Regions from separate parts of the Homo sapiens genome. Here region 1 is linked to region 2. The links are contacts of gene promoters, found by promoter capture Hi-C in human tissues and cell types (Jung and others, 2019). All regions are on one chromosome and are shown on one strand. Each heading gives the region's core, a stretch centred on a gene start or on the middle of the fragment in contact. The rest is flanking DNA. Distances are from core to core; before and after follow the strand shown.

Region 1 (2,836 bases), core at 98-2,597, 35 kb after region 2:
TTTTTCTTAAAGTGCTATTCATTTGTGAGTACTGATTGGCAACTAAAATTAAGTGACTCTTCATCTTCAGAACCTGAAAGCTTAGCATTATGAGATGCAAAAGACAGCTTTCAAACAAGCTAGGCAAAGAAGAAATTATTGAGATCACAGTTCCTTGCAATCATGAATTTGTATAGGATTTCAGCAGCTGTGATCCTTTGTAACATTGTTAAAGAAGTGCTGAGCAGGGAACCAAGATGATGTTAAATGGCACATTGTCCACATCATTAAATAACATCCAATCCCATATAGAGAGAATTATTCCACTTTCAGTTCTCTCTCAGGCTTCCAGGTGAGGAAAGTTAGTTGTTGGAGGTATGATTTAAACACCTCTTCAGGCCCTGCTAACCTTTTTAAGTCCCGAGAGCAGAACTAGAGTGCAGAGCTTTTAGTAGACAGTGTCTATGTAGAAGTTGACCATGATTTCCCTTGTTTGCAATTGTTTTTATAATCACCGACCATTTATGGGAAATGATACTGATATTCCACTTATAAGAACAATATATTTTCTTTTTGATATAAGCTTATTTAAGTAACAAAGTGAATCAATGCATAAAGTCATTAGGTAATTAACAGAATAGATGTCAATTGGACATGGAATTGAAGATACACTGATTTTTAAAATTACAATATCCTCTTAAGGCTCCAATTGACTAACTCACAAAACATCCTATGAACATTTTCCTCCATTAAACATGATATCAAAGTCAGCCTTCCTTTTACAAGCACCCTCACACCCCTACAGGACTACTGCAATCACCTAGTCAACCCTCCTACTCCTTCATAGATGAAATAATTAAAGTCAGAATAGATTTAGTGCCTTGCCAAGTCCCTCAGCTTGTCAGAAATTAAAATTCACAAGAGTGTTGTAAGGAGAAGAATGATTATACAAAATTCCTTACATGCCTCAAACCCGGTGCATTGGATGGGATTATGTTTGGCATATGTTGAACTAGGAAAAGATAGAAGAGCAATTACCCAAACCAAATGTTCTTTATTATGTCTTTATCTGCACATGGGAAGTTTTGCATAACTTAATCAGATCTAGCGGCCATAATAATAGTTAATTCAAAAAGGCAAATTGTAAGTAAACAAAAAAGTTAGATGGGCCTATTGAATAAATTACACATTCTTTAAGGATAAAAGCTCCAAACGGATTAAGGAATGACTAAAGCTGTCACCTAATTACTTCTTGAAAGGAATTTAGAGGTTCCTATAGATGGAAGCAGTGTGTCTGGGCACATGCCCAGAGCCAGAAGCGAGCATGAGCACAGCAATTCCTGGCCTCAAAAAAGGAAATAATGCTTTGCAGTCCATCATTTTGCAAACTTTGCTGGAAAAGGTAAGCAGAGGGTCTTAGAAGTGAGTTGGCATTTTACTCGTTCTCTTTTACAGAAACACACACACACACACAAATGCTTTTTGTTTTCTAATTTTGAAAAACACTCGAATAAGTTTTCTGTTTTGTAATTTTGAAAAACACTGACAAAATGTTTTCTGTTTTCTAATTTTGTCTATTTTCAAATTCAATATTCTTATGAATGACCAAAATCTTACATTATAAAAAGCTTTGCAAAACACATCATTTAAAAAAGCCTATTTGCTTTTGAATGCTTCAAACGTTGATACTGAATAATCCTTAAACATAAAGGGAAATTATTAAAAGATATTATTAAATGCATCAACTTGAAAACATAAATTACTTCTGCTTCCATAAGATAGTTAACAACTTCAAGTGAAATTGGGATTAATTTCCTTGGAAATAGACTTTCAATGGTCAATCTTCCAAAGTGAAACAGGAAGGTGACTCATAATTTACTCATAGTTGTTTCCTTAGAAGAACCATATCATACATTTTTTAAAGATAAAATGTCAGGGCTTTGTAAAAAGTGAAACCAATAAATGAAAGTCAAGAGCCAAGAGCCATTTGCATCTTTCTTCATGATTTTTGCCATAGATACATGCCACCAATATTATTTATTTAGAATTCATTAAATCTCCTGGCTAACACAGTGAAACTCCGTCTCTACTAAAAAGTACAAAAAATTAGCCAGGCATGGTTGCAGGCGCCTGTAGTCTCAGCTACTGGGGAGGCAGAGGCAGGAGAATAGCGTGAAGCCAGGAGGCGGAGCTTGCAGTGAGCTGAGATTGCGCCACTGCACTCCAGCCTGGGCGACAGAGCGAGACTCCGTCTCAAAAAAAAAAAAAAAAAAAAAAAAAGAATTCATTAAATCAACTCACTATTTTTAGTCGTTTATGTTAAAAGCAAACTTTTTCTCACATATGTAAGAAACCCACAGGTTTTGTGTGCTAATTATACTTTTTCTAATGTACATTAAAATAAATGCATAATTATTAAAATAAGAAATACTGACCTATAAACCATCTAATATCATCCTCACATATTTTGAGAAACACTAGGCTATATGATGATAAAGCTAAATTAATATTTGATAATGTTCATATCGTAGCTTTTCCTGTCTTTGTTTCTAATCTACATTTCCACAAAATTTCAACAACTCATTTAGTCTTTATACACAATTTTTATTATTCTTCCTACTTTAGGAACATTATATCTGGCATTCAAGTTGCATACATCTTGTAAAAATTGTAGAAAAATAGCCAATAGAAATAATGCCAACTTCTACAGTATATTAAGCCAAATAAATTCTGCTTTCTAAATTCCAGTCTAAAAACAGATTTTACCAACATGAAGTCACTGATTTTAACAAGATGTGAAGGTGAACAAACTATACAAAATAGATAATTATTTTATATACAATTTAGAAATGAATAT
Region 2 (2,745 bases), core at 2-2,501:
CTAGGTCTAACATCAGGGGAGCAATTCTGGGGTAAAACAATTGTTCCTGGGGTGTTTTTGTTAAACTCTATCATCCATTGCTATGGGAAAATGGTAAATCATTTCATGTTTGAGAACTGAAATAATTCCATGTTTGAGAACTAAAAACTGTAAGCAGAACTAGCATTCCAACAGTATCTTTTATCTCTTCTCTTACATATTCATAGATGTGCTTAATTGATGGATCTTCCTTTGCGTCTATATTATAGAAGGATTGCTTGTTTTGTGCTTTTCTATAGACAAAAATGCTCTCTTAATAGTTGGTTCCTAGAAAATTAGACTCCTTTTACTAGAACTAAAGGCAAGTAGGGGTATCCTCTAATTCTAGTTTTGGAATGTGTGGTTTCCAAGCTCTTAAACCAAAATTTACTCAAAATTAGGAAGGTTTTGGTTCTTCTTCCTTTTTTAAATGTGGGCTTTATTACCCTTAGGGATTTCTTCTGTAGACTACAGCTCTTACCAGAGAACTCAGAGTATAATGTTTGTATTTCTGAAAGCACCATTTCTCTATTTTTCAAGAAACTCAGTTACCACTGAGATTTCAGGCAATGAACAATAGCATCAGCTATCATATAACCCCAGTATGTAGCTGATTATTGTGCTTCTCACACAGTGGCCTCCTCTTAAAATCTAAATGAGCAGCTTGTATACAAAGAAGTATGCTTTCCCCAACCTGATCTGGCCTAAATCTATCTACTTTGTTATATAAATGCTTTGTGTATTTTCTGTTTGTAAGCCAGCATTTATCTACGTACTTGACCTAAAACTCCACACTTTACTCCATGTAATATAGTGATATAAAAAGTGTAAAACAAAGAAATATTCTCCTAAATTACCTTAGCTATAATATCACTTTGACATAGTAAAAAACAAAGGAAGTAACATAAAGGAAAGCTTAGGTATCCAATTGCAGTGAGTTTTTACTTTTTAAATATATCGTATAAGCCAATAAAATATCTTCAAAATAATATTTACCCCAACATTTTTACAACATTTATTTTAATTTTATAAACAAATAACAAAGATAGTTTTAGTAGATTATATCTGGGCTGTAGTGACCCAATTATCTGGTCAAAGGGCTGCATGGATGCAAGAGACAGGGTGAGTTAAAGTTTAACTCCCAGGAATTGTAAACCAAACCTAAAGCCACTGAACCTTTGGAGTTTGATATGACGATTAGAGCATAACCCGAGTGACACGTTGAATTCGCCATAATCAAGGAAACCTTTTCCGGGTGGGGATCTCTGAAATTACTCAGGTATGATCCATGTGTTTTGCTTTTTTCTATTTCAACTCTGTGAAACTGTGTATTGTGGTATCAGTGGGAATGCAGTGAAAACAGCTTTTACCCTCTTCTGTTATCGAGCCTAATTCAAAGAATTATCTAGCTTGTTTTTAGACTAATGAAACAACCAGAAAACAAAAGAATATATTGGAATTATTATATAATCTCTAAATGAGATAGCTGCCAGGATTTAATAAATTTCTGTAGACTTACCACGGAGGGTTCAAGAGTGGAGCCAATGTTGTGAGAAGTTTATTTAGCTCTAACCAGACAGCAGGGAGAGTTGTGGTTGAGTGCCTGTCCCAATCCTAGGACCCTGAGAAACAAAAATATAATTAACAAAAGAAATAGTATTAACATCACCAGCAGATTTTGAGTTCTGTGTGTGGGTCATAATTCCTATCATACTTTAGACTTCATATATTCAATTATCTCCAGAGCTACTACCACCATAAAAAAGAAAGTCTTGGTACAACTCTTGCGATTCCGCCTGCCATTATCTTGCTAACCAAAGGAATGTTTAAACTATTCACTTTTGATTCTGACCAAAAAAATATTATGGAAAATGACTGGTTTTCAGTGTGTTAAATCTGAACCTTGGAATGGCTAATTATTATATTGTTTCCACAATTTGGGCAACTGTGCTGAGGTGGATATATTTTCACATATTTTTTTTGTGTACTCCAAAAACATTATAATGGTATTTTAGCTAAAGAAAGAAATCAATCTGGACATTTACCAAAAATATCCCATTTTTACCAGAAACCCCCTAAACTCTCTGACTTTTTGTCATGATTACCTATGTAAATTCCAAGAAGAAAGGATTCCAAACTAAACAATTTTATTTACTATAGGACTTTTCAGATATGTATTGTATATCTCCAAGAAGATGAAGAACACAGCATTATTTGCACATTGTGCAGGATTAGTGTTTTATAGATCGTATTTTGGCAAATTCAGCTCTAGTTATAGTTTAGGAGCATCAAAAAATGTGTTGGTCTGCTCTGAAATTTTCTTTATAACGTGTGCTATGGAGCATGCAATGGGAGCACAGGTCTGGAAATGACAGTGATATCACTTATTTGTCAAAGCAGTAAGGTTTTGCCCTGCTAAATACAGAGAAAGAGACAAATGACTTATAAGGTTCATACTTTCTGGAATAACATTGACTCTGCCCATTTCAGACAACTCTTAACATTTTACTGTTCTATTTTACTATTTATCGATTTCAAGGGAAAAAAGAAGACAGCTGGCAAGGAAAAGAAATATTGTTGTGGGCAAACATTATAAAATGACATAATGGATATTAAAACACTATAAATACTTTGTTCTTATTTTCTACTGCACTAATGCCAAGGTGGTTTTATGTCATTTCAAATATCAACATTTCCTACACTATATTCAGTGGATGTTAATAAATG

The links. Contacts are between HindIII fragments. The study calls those that stand out against the background at their distance.
Region 1: a fragment that was not itself captured here is called in contact with the fragment with the promoter of A1CF in region 2 in 1 of the 25 tissues and cell types used here (aorta).

What each region holds. Positions count from the first base shown.
Region 1 is chr10:50,849,210-50,852,045 of GRCh38, reverse strand. All of the region lies in intron 3 of A1CF (APOBEC1 complementation factor), which reads left to right. Among named protein-coding and RNA genes, the nearest start is that of A1CF, 35 kb to the left of the region's middle. RefSeq lists a silencer at 1,991-2,191. The HindIII fragment of the contact is 3,059 bases long and covers 1-2,836 here.
Region 2 is chr10:50,884,133-50,886,877 of GRCh38, reverse strand. It overlaps A1CF (APOBEC1 complementation factor), which reads left to right and starts at 1,251. Exons shown (of 13, transcript NM_014576.4): 1 at 1,251-1,297. The HindIII fragment of the contact is 7,461 bases long and covers 1-2,745 here.